Linked DNA regions of Homo sapiens: regions 1, 2 and 3 are each linked to region 4. Evidence: promoter capture Hi-C in 16 types of primary human blood cells and fetal thymus (Javierre and others, 2016). All regions are on one chromosome and are shown on one strand. The core of a region is centred on a gene start or on the middle of the fragment in contact, and the rest is flanking DNA. Distances in the headings are between cores, read along the strand shown. Region 1 overlaps MYO5A (myosin VA). Region 2 overlaps MYO5C (myosin VC). Region 3 overlaps MYO5C (myosin VC). Region 4 holds the start of LEO1 (LEO1 component of Paf1/RNA polymerase II complex).

Region 1 (3,058 bases), core at 505-3,004, 390 kb after region 4:
CTTTTTGCTATTTAATGTAACTTTTGGATACAGGGCAGTGATTAAGTGCTCTGGATCTGAAACGAGAGAGAGTTAGGCAGGAATACCAGCTCTTCCACTAGCTGGTATTTTCATCATCAGGAAAAAAAGGGTACTAATTTCTATCTCATAGGGTCTGTGTGAGGATTAAATAAGAGTGTGGAAGTAAAGAGTTTGGCTTGGCATAACAAGCATTCAATGAATGTTAACTTCTGCTGCTGTGATTGTTAGGAGATTGCAGTGATTCAGCAACTTCCTTGTTGGTAACTTTTCAGTTCTCTGTTTTTAGGATTTTGTTCCCCCGTTTATACGTTTTTCAATTACAAGGATATATATTTGACTGGATCATCACGTTCTCCTTCAAGATCTGCACCTCCCTCCTCTTCTGCTCCTGATTTCTCCCATGATTCCTTCTTTTCCAGAACATGTTTTATCCCTTTGTCAAGACTAACGACCCCATGATTGACATGCTGGTTTCCCTCCCCTCTCTGGAATTAATTTATCTTTAAACACTTCATAAACCTGGATGCCCATGCCTCATGATCTTTTCATCATTGGCTTGAAACTCCTTAGCCCTGGATTGGTCCTTCCTCTTTGCCTCTGCCCCTATATTCCCTGGACAACCGAATGTTCTTGGAGAAAAATGCTACAGTACTTCTTGTACTAGGGCCAACAACTCTAGAGGCTGGCAATGAGTGACACTATTAGTGTTCTTTGGCCCATGTATCACATAGGTTATGGGAAGCGCTGGAGGCAGTGTATCAAGTCCCCTCCCTAGAGTTTCCTCCATTCATATGACGACTCTGTTTACAACCAAATGCTTCATTAGCTCTGGATTGAAGCAGTGAGAGTGTCATTTACAGAACAGCGTCAGTCTAATATTAGTCAAGTACTCATCTGTTAGCTGTTTAGTTGTACCTAAACATTAAAATAAGATATTGTCACTAATATTTTAATTGTCATGGGTTAAAAGATCAAGTTTTTTATTCTCTGCAATTCTGGGCAAATATTTTCTGCAAAAACTGTCATCTTGATTATATCTGGAGCTAGGAAAAGGAGATCTAGTGAAGAAATGAGTGGGAAGCAAGTGAGCTCTGATCTCCCTTCCTCTGCTTTCTCCTTTTCCCTTCCTCTGACCATTTTGTCTCCCAAGAGGAATGACTGAGTCACAGGCATACAATGGAGAGGACACATGACTGAGAAATAAGAAATTGAGCAACTAAAACTACCTCTAGAGCACTGCTGGGAACAGATGGAGAGCAGGCAGACTTGCTTAGCAGGAAGGAGGAGCCGTGTCAAGCTGCTGGAGGAGGCGTCACTGGAGGACCTTTCTAGAAATGGCCACCTCCTCGACTAAAGAGACCCATGACCTCCTCACAGATGGATATCTCTGGAATATGCTCAGAGAGGGATACATGTATGGCACCTGCTTCTCTCATTTTATTTTCTGAAATTCATATTGCATGCACCATTAAAGAATCCAAGAAATTCTCCAGAAAAGACATTTGTTTATCTCTGTTTAACCTAGTAGATTACCACATTTATTTTACCTAAGAATTTCTTTTCCAATCCCACTTATTAACATCCCAAATAACTAGGGGGTCTCAGAAACACCTACTGGGTTATAAAGCTTAGCTCTAACCATAACTGAAACAGAGATTAACCATAAATGTTGGCATTGTCATCTAATAAATAGAGTGAACAAAAACACACCAAAGAATGGAACTGGGGAACATGAACACTGAAAAAGAAGAAAAGGATTCAAGAGAAAGCTAAGAATTACAGAATGTGAAGGAAGAAAGGTTTCAATGGGACCAACGGTAGCACGGTGATCTAGGAAGATGAAGCTTAACAAGGGTCTTTAGATTTGTCAATTATAAGAACAGTTATAATGGTGACTTGCATCTACTTCTAATTTCTCTTTGTCACACATAAATCAGAGTAGTGAGGGTTGAAATAATGGTCCAATGTGGGATTTATATTAGCTTTTTGGTCTCTTTTAGACAGGATTTTCTCATCTGCAAGGTGATGAGAGCCTATCTTTTGTATTACACAATCTCTTTTATTTTGACTTTTAAGTGTCATATTGTAATGAACTTTGTCAGTAGGTCCAGATAGAAGCAAAATTTGAAGAAAATACTCTGCTCCACAGATACTGAATTATCTGGCTTTTTATGAGATATTTCAGGGCATTTCTGGTCATTTGTATAATTAGGTTACCTTTAAGGCTGGTACTTGTAGGGATGCTTGGGAACTCTTTGTTTCCTGATAGCAGGATACATGGAATGGGGAGGATGTGCAGAATTATTACAAGTATGAAAGGTACATTGGCAAATGCAGAAGAGTCCTTGAAATAGATAATTCATTACAAATGGAGTCTGAATTTTCTTTTCATAGGAATATATCTTCAAAATTATAATCAAAACCAGTCTACATGTAAATTTTACATTAGGCCATTCAATATATAAAACAAAGTCCAACTGGCCGGGCGCAATGGCTCATGCCTGTAATCCCAGCACTTTGGGAGGCCAAGGTGGGTAGATCATGAGGTCAAGAGATCGAGACCATCCTGGCCAACATGGTGAAACCCCATTTCTACTAAAAATACAAAAAATTAGCTGGGCATGGTGGTGGGCACCTGTAGTCCCAGCTACTCGGGAGGCTGAGGCAGGAGAATCACTTGAACCTGGGAGGCGGAGGTTGCAGTGAGCCGAGATTGTGCCACTACACTCCAGCCTGGTGACACAGGGAGACTCCATCTCAAAAAAAAAAACAAAAACAAAAACAAAAATCCAACTTTACTGACTTTATACTATCACATAGCCCAGTCTTTAAACTGTTTGACTTTACCGAAGTACTTGTGAATAAAATTATATGATTTCTAAGATTTGCTTTAAAATAATCCAATCCATTGGATGGAGTGGGTTGGGGAGATGGAATGGGAGGTGAATATGTGTTGAACATTCTGGAACTGGGTGGTAGGTACACAGAAGATATGGAGGTTCATTCTACTATTCTATTTACTTTTGTATATGTTTAA
Region 2 (2,853 bases), core at 147-2,646, 290 kb after region 4:
AAAGTTCACTTAAGCTTTTAACTGGCTGCTCAAACACTTTCTGGGAAGAAGACAAGGTAAATAATTGACTAGGCTATCCCAGTAATGTATTAAGCATTTTATAACTGTTGACACGTACTATTAATTGGGAGCCATATGTATTAACTTAGGATCTAAATTAAACAAAGCAGCTCCCTTGACTGTCTCCCATTTGACAGCTATGGGAAAAGCTGCCTCTCCACCTGGGTGCAAGTCCAACAGCGTGGTGTGGCCCTGTCCCCCTCCTCCCCAGGAGGCAGCAGCAGGGCCGTGAAGGCCAGAGCTCAGCTCTCCCCTTTGCATGGGGAATGGGGTTGAGCTGCTTTTTGCCATGGTGTGGGGAAGATCCCCCAATCCAGGTGGAACACTCCAGGATGCCTTTCATGGGTCAATCTTCCCCTTCTCCTGTTAAGAAACCAGGGTGGGTCCCAGGAGAGGGGCAAGGGCTGGGCACTGGGGCCAGCTGCTAGAAAAGCCTGAAGGATAACAATCTCCACAGAGCCCTCCATGCCAGCTTCCACTCTGGTTACTCCATAGCTGTTTCAGCACGAGCTGAGCCCGGGGTTTAGAAAAGGAGGACCAGGCAGAGAGAATGAAAAAGAACCCAACTCCAGGGTGGGATGAAGGGTAAGACCTCCTGGAGGAGGGCTGGGGAAAATCCAAGACCTTCTCACCCAAGAACGGAAAAGGATTGGGGTAGGGGGGTGGTTGATCAGAGACCTGGGTTCAGTCCACCTCTGGCCGCTGGGCTTGGGCAAGGTGCAAGCCTAGGTGACTTGTCATCCCCTGTGATTCGAATGGGAAGGGACCTTGGGGCTCCACACCTCAGGGGCCTTTGGTGGGAAAAGCAAAAGCAGGAGCCTCACAACTGTGCTGGGTTCTCCCACCAGCGGAGCAATTGTGACGAAGTTATTGAGTCTTTCTAAGCCTTGGTTGTTGCAGCTCTACAACGGGGATAGTTATAAGGTTGTTTAAGAAATTAAGTGAGAAAGCCCATGGAAGCCAAGCAGCCTCAGAGCTGGCACACAGTAAGCTCTTGACATTGGTCATTCCTAATTCAGCATCTCTTTAATGCACTTTGAATAAATGGCACCATAGCCCAGGAGAGTGTACTTAGCATCTATAGGGGCAAAAGCAGAGAATGTTATCTTTCTAATCATGTGAAATACAAAAGAACCAGAACAAAATGATCTAAAAACCATGCGGCTCTCAACATTTAAAGGAGGAAAGACAGGCTCACTGAAGAGAATCTTACCCATAAATGTCCAAAACACCAATAAAAGTGTGCTGCTTGCCTGAAAACTGCAACGCTTGGTTAATTCTCTCCACAATGAAGTCGAACAGGTGAGCATAGATCTTTTTGGCCAGTGCATCCCTGGCGTTGACAGCCTGAGGCCTGGTCATGGGTTTTACCACCGTCTCAGAGCTTGTGACGATTTTGCGATTGCACAGCCACTGAGCAACTCTGCCACTCTCCAGGCCCAGGAGCTCACAGAACACCTTCAGGTGACTGTCATCCTCCTTCAAAAACAAGCACAAGCCCCGTCAGGTGGCCCAGCCATCCAAAGACACACAATCCCACCCGGCCAAGGCCCCCGTGCCCACACTCAGGCCTGTGCAAGAGCTGAGTAGTAGCTGGCACAAGGACGCCCAGCCTCAGGAGGTGGAGATAGACCTGGGAGTAGAGCAAGGGGGCTACAGCAGCACGGGTCCTGCACCTGGCCCTTGGCAGACCACCCCTGCAGCAATGCCAGGGAGTCCAGGGCTGCGTCCCACGCTGATTTTTCATTTTAACCAAAGAATGTCAGCGGTGACTAAGGCCATAGAGGCCACCCTCTCTAGACCCTGCCCTGTTCCTGTGGATGTGGATGCAGCCCTCTCTCTTCCCTTTGAACCATCCTGGGCCACTTGTCAGAGTGTGCACTCACCCTGCCCCACCTCGTGTGGCCAGGGGTTTGCCTGGATGGTTGGTCCAGGAGGTACCCAGGTGTTGCTGCCAGGCAGAAGCTGGTGGGAGTCCCATGGCTGAGCTAGTGCCTCAGCTGACACGAGGGCTGGGGTGGGACTTTTCCTGAATACACAAAGTGAAATCTTGCTTCTCCCCCAAGCCAGGGCATGAGAGCTGCCCCGCTGGTCAGCAGATGAAAAAAGGGAAGAGGTGCTCCCATTTCCCTTCAGCCAGTGTGGACAAAGGGCTCCTGTCCTCAGGCAAGGATGTGACTCCCAGCTCCTCTCTCAGGCAGGAGAACTCCCAAGGCAGGCTCCCCTGCCGGCACCATTCCAGCCCACCAGGAAATCTACATGATTGCACTAAAAAGCCTCAGGACACAGTGTAGGAAGCCATGGAAACAGTCCTGCCCCTCCCTGCGCTCTACCCACACCCCCTGCTGACCAATATCACAGTAACACAGAGCTGGCTTTGACGTGCCTGACCTTATAAGGGAAGGGACTGGCAGTGGCATTTGGTTTCCTTCCTTCTAAGAAAGAATGAAACCTTCTGAGTCAAAAACAATTCAGCTGCAGGTGCTGCTATGGGAAAAAAATGCAAAGGGGCGGCAGCTTTTCAAAAAGTCAGATGGCTTTGTCCAAATTTAACGTGTCCAACATTTCAAGTTCCTGATACAAATGGGTGGAGATGGATCCCAAATCTAGGACCAATAATTATAGGACTGGGAATTTTCTACAAATATTCTTAGAAGCCTTTCCAAAGGATTTTCAGTCAATCAATTTTAATTCCTCCTCCAAAATGCTACCTTAATAAGAAGCTTCACGGGAGAGGGCTCAGTGTGATGGCATTTGTTGGGTAGAAATCACATTTTTAATCTATGGGGGTTT
Region 3 (3,240 bases), core at 304-2,803, 270 kb after region 4:
GGCTTTCAGGATAAGGGACCAGCATGAGTAAAGGCATGGAGGCTCTACAGTGCCTGAAATACTCAGAAAAGGAGTTTGTTTGGAATCACTAGAATAAGATGGATGAAGAAAATTAGACGTCAATGAGGTTAGAAAAATAGATGTGCACCATTTGTTATTTTAAAAACATATTTGTTGAACACCTTCTATGACAGCCACCATGCTAGGTCTGGGTATGAATGACCAGACAAGTGTGGCCCCTGCCCTCATGGAGCTTCCATTCTTATGAATGCACCCAGGCTATGGAGGGCTTTGAATATCACGTCAGAGACTGAATGCTATTCTGTAGGAAACACGGGCCTTAAAGGCAGGTGCAGGGCAGTGTCTCAATCAGGCTCTGATGTAGGAAGATGGGAAGGAGGTGGGAGGTGGAGCACGGTGCCATCAGAGTGCAAGGCAGGTGATGCCGTGAGCCTAAACTGGGGGCAGGAGTGGGATGAAATGAATGGGATAGGCAGGAGGCCAGCAGGGCAGGATGATCAGGCTCTGGTGAGCCCCAAATGGGAAGGGAGCGTGGCCTTGGCGGGTAAGATAACTGTGATTTCCTTCCCCAAAGACTGCTGTTATCAACTGGGCACAGAAGCACAGGAGGGCAAGCCAGCCCAGCTGTGTGATCCATGCCACACCACGCTGGTCATGCAGAGAAGGCCAGATGCTGCCACAGTTCAGCCTCCAGCTCAGGAAGAAGTCAGGCTTGCAGACGCAGCCTGACCCTAAACGCCGGCCTTCTCAAGCATCCTCACAGCATCCCAAAGAAGGGGCAGAGCAGGCAGAGAGAAACACAAAGTTTATCTAGGGGCACCCTGGTCTTGTGCTTTCCAGCAGGTACACCAAAGCCCTGGAAGTCCCGGAATGACCGTGGTCCTTCAGTGGGCTGGCAGGGTTGTGTGGACTCTCAGGACCCCTCGAGGCAGGTAGGATCAGCGCAGCTGGTGGACCACCCTCCCCTCAGCCCTTGGCTTGGCTGGGGCTGCTGTGGTCTTCCTGCTTAGGGGTTCTGTGATTGGTTTGCTGCCAGGCCTTGCAGGGACCCCCTCTGCCATGGTGCACCCCACCTGTTGCTGGCAGGCTGGTCGCTGGCTATTCTTGACATCTGTCCTTTGGATCTTCACTAGGGCCTTGCTGATCTTATGCATTTTCAGTTCCCATAGGAAAGGGGCCCCGGGCCTCTCCCTGAGCTTCCGGAACCCTGACTCTCCTTAGTAACACTCTCACCAGCGCTTCCTCCCTGCAGGGCCCTGGGTGTCGGCTCACCACACAGACACCAGGCAGAGCCAGCACTACCTGCCCCTGAGAGACGGACCTTTCTTGCCCTAATGCTCACGACCACAAAGGGGACCCATGCACGTCTGCACCCTGGGTCACAGGAGAAAGGTCCCTTGTCCTTGATGAGTCCTCCCCGCCGGAGATGATCAGCACAGAAAGCCCCACAGTTCCACATGTGTTCCTTGATTCCAACATACCTCACAGTTTGCTGACCCCGGAAGTACTGCTGGATTATCAGGGCGGCTCGTCTCTCTCGGAGGAATTTTTTCCTCTGGAGCCAGCCACGCATGTGCTTTTGTACCATAACACAACTCTGCCTCAGTTTATCCAATCGAAGTTTCTCTAAATAAGCCACTTGTCCTGCTCTGAAGAAAATTTTGGTTTTACCAAACTGGTACTGATTAGAATCCTGGAAGAGAAAAATGATATAGTTAGAATTAAAATCTGTCAGATTTTCTATAATACAGTATTTGGAAAAGAGCTTTAGGGATTCAAAGGTGCCAGAAATATTGTGATTTTGACATTTAAGGCAGAAAACTCACATCATGATCTAGAAATGTATACTTTGAGTTGTTTGTTTAAAATTACCCTGGAGGAAGAAATGGGACTTAGGCTGAGGAATCCATTTGTGGGTGAGAAGGGGAGTGAGTGTCATTTGCGGCGATTCTCAGTTGGGCTGCCAGAGAACTTCAGCCACTCTCTCGTGGTCTCCACATTGGAGTAGAAGAAACTGGGGAAGTTTGGTTTTCTGTCTCCATTTTGGGTTCTCTTCACCATCCCCTTTGCTGGACCTTATAACTCCCCATCTCTTTCCCATCACAACTCATCGCTGCAGCAATGATGTCAATCCACACAAGGCACCATGCCTGGAGCCCATGTGGCTTGGTGACAACCCCAGTTGACCATATCCTATAAGCCTGGTCCACAGAGGACTGGGTTAGATCGTGGGAGAGCTAAACAGGATACGAGGACACTGGGGAGGCCGGAGTTCGGATGTGGGTCCCTAACGGGGACTCATGGCCCACTGAGCACTCTGCTATGGTCTCTTCAGCAGACAAATGCTCAGGGCACATTTTCTTTCCTTTCAGGTGTTCATGATTACAGTCCTGAGCATTCAAGACAAAGATGAAACAGCATGTTTGGGAGATGTGCTTCCAGGAAGGAGACCATGATCCCAGGAGGTGGGGAAACTGACCTGGATGAGTCTGTGTAAAACCACCTTGCACACCTCCTTTTTATCGCTGAAGGAAAGCTCTTGCTTGGTCATGAGAATGCCGTAGCGACTGTAGAACTCGATGTATGTCCACCTGGAAAATCAAAGGGGATCAAAGCCAGGAGTGTCAGAGGAAGCACATTGTGTCTGGGGACTCCGCTGCCTTACCTGCCACTGTTGTCATAGGGCGGGGGTGGTGCAATCTGTCCTGAGGATAAAGGCACTGATCTTTGATACCCTGCCTGCCTGGGACACTACCAAGACCACCCTGAGCACTCCTGTCTGCCCCAGCAATTGTGCTCTTTCTCCCACTCAGCGTCTTCCCTAGTACACGGGGGAGGCGGTGGGGCCACCACCAGCAGCCGAGATGCAGTGATGGGGTGAGAAGGTGGTGTTGACCTCCGACCCCTACAAAGCCTATTTCTCAACCTCTTCTGGACTTCCACAGGGCAGTGGGAAAATCTTGGGGGCACTTTACAGAAGCCAAAAGTATGTGACAAAAATCATGGCAGCCATGTCCTTGGTTCTCAGCATAGCTCTGATGTCAGGTACTTTTCCCTCCAAGACAAGGACGGACAACATACCTGGAAGGGTAGCTCTGTGCACTAATGCGAATCGTTTCTAAAACGCCGCAGGCTCGCAGCTGCTGAACAATTCTTTTGGAGTCAAATCTTTAAAAAGACAATGATATTATGTGTTGAGGCATCGTAATTGCTCAACAT
Region 4 (2,944 bases), core at 48-2,547:
ATTTAGGGTGTGCACATTCAATGGAATATTATTAAATCATTAAAAATGAATAAAGTACTGATATGTGCTACAATGCCTTGAAGACATTATGCTAAGTAAAAGAAACCAGACACAAAAGACCACAATGCATGATTCAATTTATATGAAATTCCCAGAACAGATAAGTACAGAAACAATAGCAGACAGGGGTTGGAGGAAGGAGCATATGAGGAGTAAGTGCTTTATGAACAGTGTTTTATTTGGGGGTGATGAAAATAACAACTAGATATATGTTGTCTACAAGAGACTCACTTTACTTGGAGCCTAGAGGGTTGCAAGAATTCTGAACTTGGTCTTGGGTTCTCACTTCAAATAGCTCCTATTCATATTTCAAGTGCCCGTAGTCTCAACTACTTGGAGGCTGAGGCAGAAGGATGGCTTGAGCCCAGAAGTTCAAGGCCAACCTGAGCAACACAGTGAGACCCTGTCTCTAAAAAAGTAAACTTTAAAAAAACACCCACAATCCTGTGCCAGAAATAACTTCCAAGCAGCATGCACATACACTAATTCATTCATTTCATCAACAAATCCTTCATTCCTCCTCTCTGTACACAGACCCCATGCACTCCCCAATCTAACATCACAGACTCCGGAAATTCTGGAGTTTCTGCACAAGCTCTTAGAGAACACATTCTCTCCTATGTGAAACATCTATCTGTAACCCCATCCCATTATCCGTCCCAGACTCGTCATCCAGACATCTCAAGCTCCCTATCACACCATGCTCTGGTTTCATTCAAGACGGCATTCTGAGGCCCTCTGTAAATTCGCCCACCCCATCCCATATTCCTGCATTCATTTCCATTCATTCAAAAACAGCCCTTACTCTACGCTGGCCTGTGCAAGGCAAGGCGGAACAGGACTCCAACGTTCCTACCCGCGCTGCGCAGGCTCGCCTGCACTTCCACCCATGCCCCGCGCCCCTTTCGCTCCACAAGCTCCCAGGAACCGTCTGCTCCACCGACACCCAGAGCCTCGAGGCGCAGACTGTCTGACTCTCCATCCTGCCCGCCGGAGGAGGATGGCACCTCCGGGAGTGCAGGGGGCGCTGAGGCAGGAGTGGAGGAAACGCCACCTCTTGCCCGCGGCGCTGGAGCCTCCACGGTTGTCCGGCTCCCACAGCGGAAGGCCTGCCACGCACCCATCCTCCGAAGACCAGCGAACCCACCTTTACGCTCAGCTTCGCTGTCGGCGTCGCTCCCGAAGAGATCCTCCATATCCGCCATTATCGCTCACGTCCGCTGCTGCCTCGGTTAGGGGCAGCTCCCGGCCTCTCTTTACGGCACGGAACCACTGAAACACGACAGTGTCGCAAAGATTCGCCGAAGACACTCCTTTCCTTACGTGACCTAGTTTTCGCTCGCCCAGTGAACCTGTTCTCGCCTGGGTATGCATGGTATATAAGCCCGGCCATTTCGTCAATATCTGTTATTTGCCAGGATTCTTACCAGGGGGCGGGGGGGTCCTGCGTTCGGTTGCGGGTGTGGATGGGGTGGGCGGTGACTGGCGCTCTCTGGGGAAGGGCCTCTGGCTGGATTAAACCTATCGCGAGTCAGGATTGAAGCCCTTTGTTTCTTACTGAGCAGCTGTTCTCCAGTTATTTCATCCCAAACCCCTTTACCCTCTTAAAAATTGTTGAGACGGAGTCTCGCTCAGTCGCCCAGGCTGGAGTGCAGTGGCGCGATCTCGGCTCACAGCAACCTCCACTGTCCGGGTTCAAGCAATTCTAATTCCTCAGCCTCCCGAGTAGCTGGGACGACAGGCGCCCGCCACCACACCCGGCTAATTTTTTGTATTTTAGTAGACACGGGGTTTCACCGTGTTGCCCAGGCTGGTCGCAAACTCAGGAGCTCAGGCAATCCGCCCGCCTCGGCCTCCCAAAGTGCTGGGATTACAGGTACGGGTATTGATATTTACTGTATTCTTACTAATACGGTAATAAATTTTTAAGTTACTAATTCATTTAAAAATAATATACATGTTAACAAACAGCTTTTTTAAGCTTTAAATGACCATTTTTTTGGCCGGGCGCGGTCGCTCACGCCTGTAATCCCAGCACTTTGGGAGGCCGAGGCGGGTGGATCACGAGGTCAGGAGATCGAGACCATCCTGGCTAACACGGTGAAACCCCGTCTCTACTAAAATAAAAAAAATTAGCCGGGCGTGGTTGTGGGCGCCTGTCGTCCCAGCTACTAGGGAGGATGAGGCAGGAGAATGGCGTGAACCCAGGAGGCGGAGCTTGCAGTGAGCCGAGATCGCGCCACTGCACTCCAGCCTGGGCACGAGACTCCATCTCAAAAAAATAATAATAATAAAATAAAATAATTAAAAATAAAAACATTAGCCAGGCATGATGGCATGCATTTGTAGCCCTAGCTACTCAGGAAACTGAGAATGGAGGATCACTTGAGCCCAGGAGTTGGAGGCTGCAGTGAGCTATGATCACGCCACTTCACTCTAGCCTGAGTGACAGAGTAAGGCTCTGTTTCTTAGAAGAAAAAGTGAGAAAAGAGTACATCCTGTGTTACATTACCTAATTAGGCCATTATGAGAGTTTTGGTCTTGGACAAGCAACAATGAATATTTAGTTTGGAGATTATATGATATATATTTTTGTAGTAAACTTCAGTGCTTAACAGGGTCCAAATGGGTGGGACTGGGTATGTAATCATCAATCCTAGAGCTTTTGTGTATGAAGCGGATGTTGCAAGAGAAGATACATAGATAACCTGAAAACTATCTGGAATACTGGAAAAACAAGTATTCCATTTGACAGTGATTCAGTTTCATTTTCATTTAGAGTACTGTCCCTGAAAAGTACTTTGATTAAATTTATTTTCTTTTGATACAGTGTCTCTGTTGCCTAGGCTGGAGCGCAGTGGCGCCATCATAGCTCACTGCAGCC

What was found. Contacts are between HindIII fragments. The CHiCAGO score rates a contact against its expected background, and 5 or more counts as called.
Region 1: a contact is called between a fragment that was not itself captured here and the fragment with the promoter of LEO1 in region 4, in 1 of 17 cell types (total B cells). The highest score is 5.1, in total B cells.
Region 2: a contact is called between a fragment that was not itself captured here and the fragment with the promoter of LEO1 in region 4, in 1 of 17 cell types (naive CD4 T cells). The highest score is 5.2, in naive CD4 T cells.
Region 3: a fragment that was not itself captured here is called in contact with the fragment with the promoter of LEO1 in region 4 in 1 of 17 cell types (endothelial precursors); the score reaches 5.7 in endothelial precursors.

The regions. Positions count from the first base shown.
Region 1 is chr15:52,361,457-52,364,514 of GRCh38, forward strand. The region is part of intron 24 of MYO5A (myosin VA); the gene reads right to left. Among named protein-coding and RNA genes, the nearest start is that of MYO5C, 67 kb to the left of the region's middle. The HindIII fragment of the contact is 217 bases long and covers 1,647-1,863 here.
Region 2 is chr15:52,259,589-52,262,441 of GRCh38, forward strand. It overlaps MYO5C (myosin VC), which reads right to left. Exons shown (of 41, transcript NM_018728.4): 10 at 1,274-1,539. Among named protein-coding and RNA genes, the nearest start is that of MIR1266, 16 kb to the right of the region's middle. RefSeq lists an enhancer at 612-1,187. The HindIII fragment of the contact is 2,769 bases long and covers 13-2,781 here.
Region 3 is chr15:52,242,854-52,246,093 of GRCh38, forward strand. It overlaps MYO5C (myosin VC), which reads right to left. Exons shown (of 41, transcript NM_018728.4): 17 at 3,103-3,189; 18 at 2,501-2,612; 19 at 1,503-1,714. Among named protein-coding and RNA genes, the nearest start is that of MIR1266, 33 kb to the right of the region's middle. The HindIII fragment of the contact is 4,253 bases long and covers 1-3,240 here.
Region 4 is chr15:51,970,481-51,973,424 of GRCh38, forward strand. It overlaps LEO1 (LEO1 component of Paf1/RNA polymerase II complex), which reads right to left and starts at 1,298. Exons shown (of 12, transcript NM_138792.4): 1 at 1,208-1,298. The coding sequence starts at 1,265. It also overlaps a transcript of MAPK6 not described here. RefSeq lists enhancers at 415-991, 815-1,344, 992-1,567. The HindIII fragment of the contact is 6,227 bases long and covers 1-2,039 here.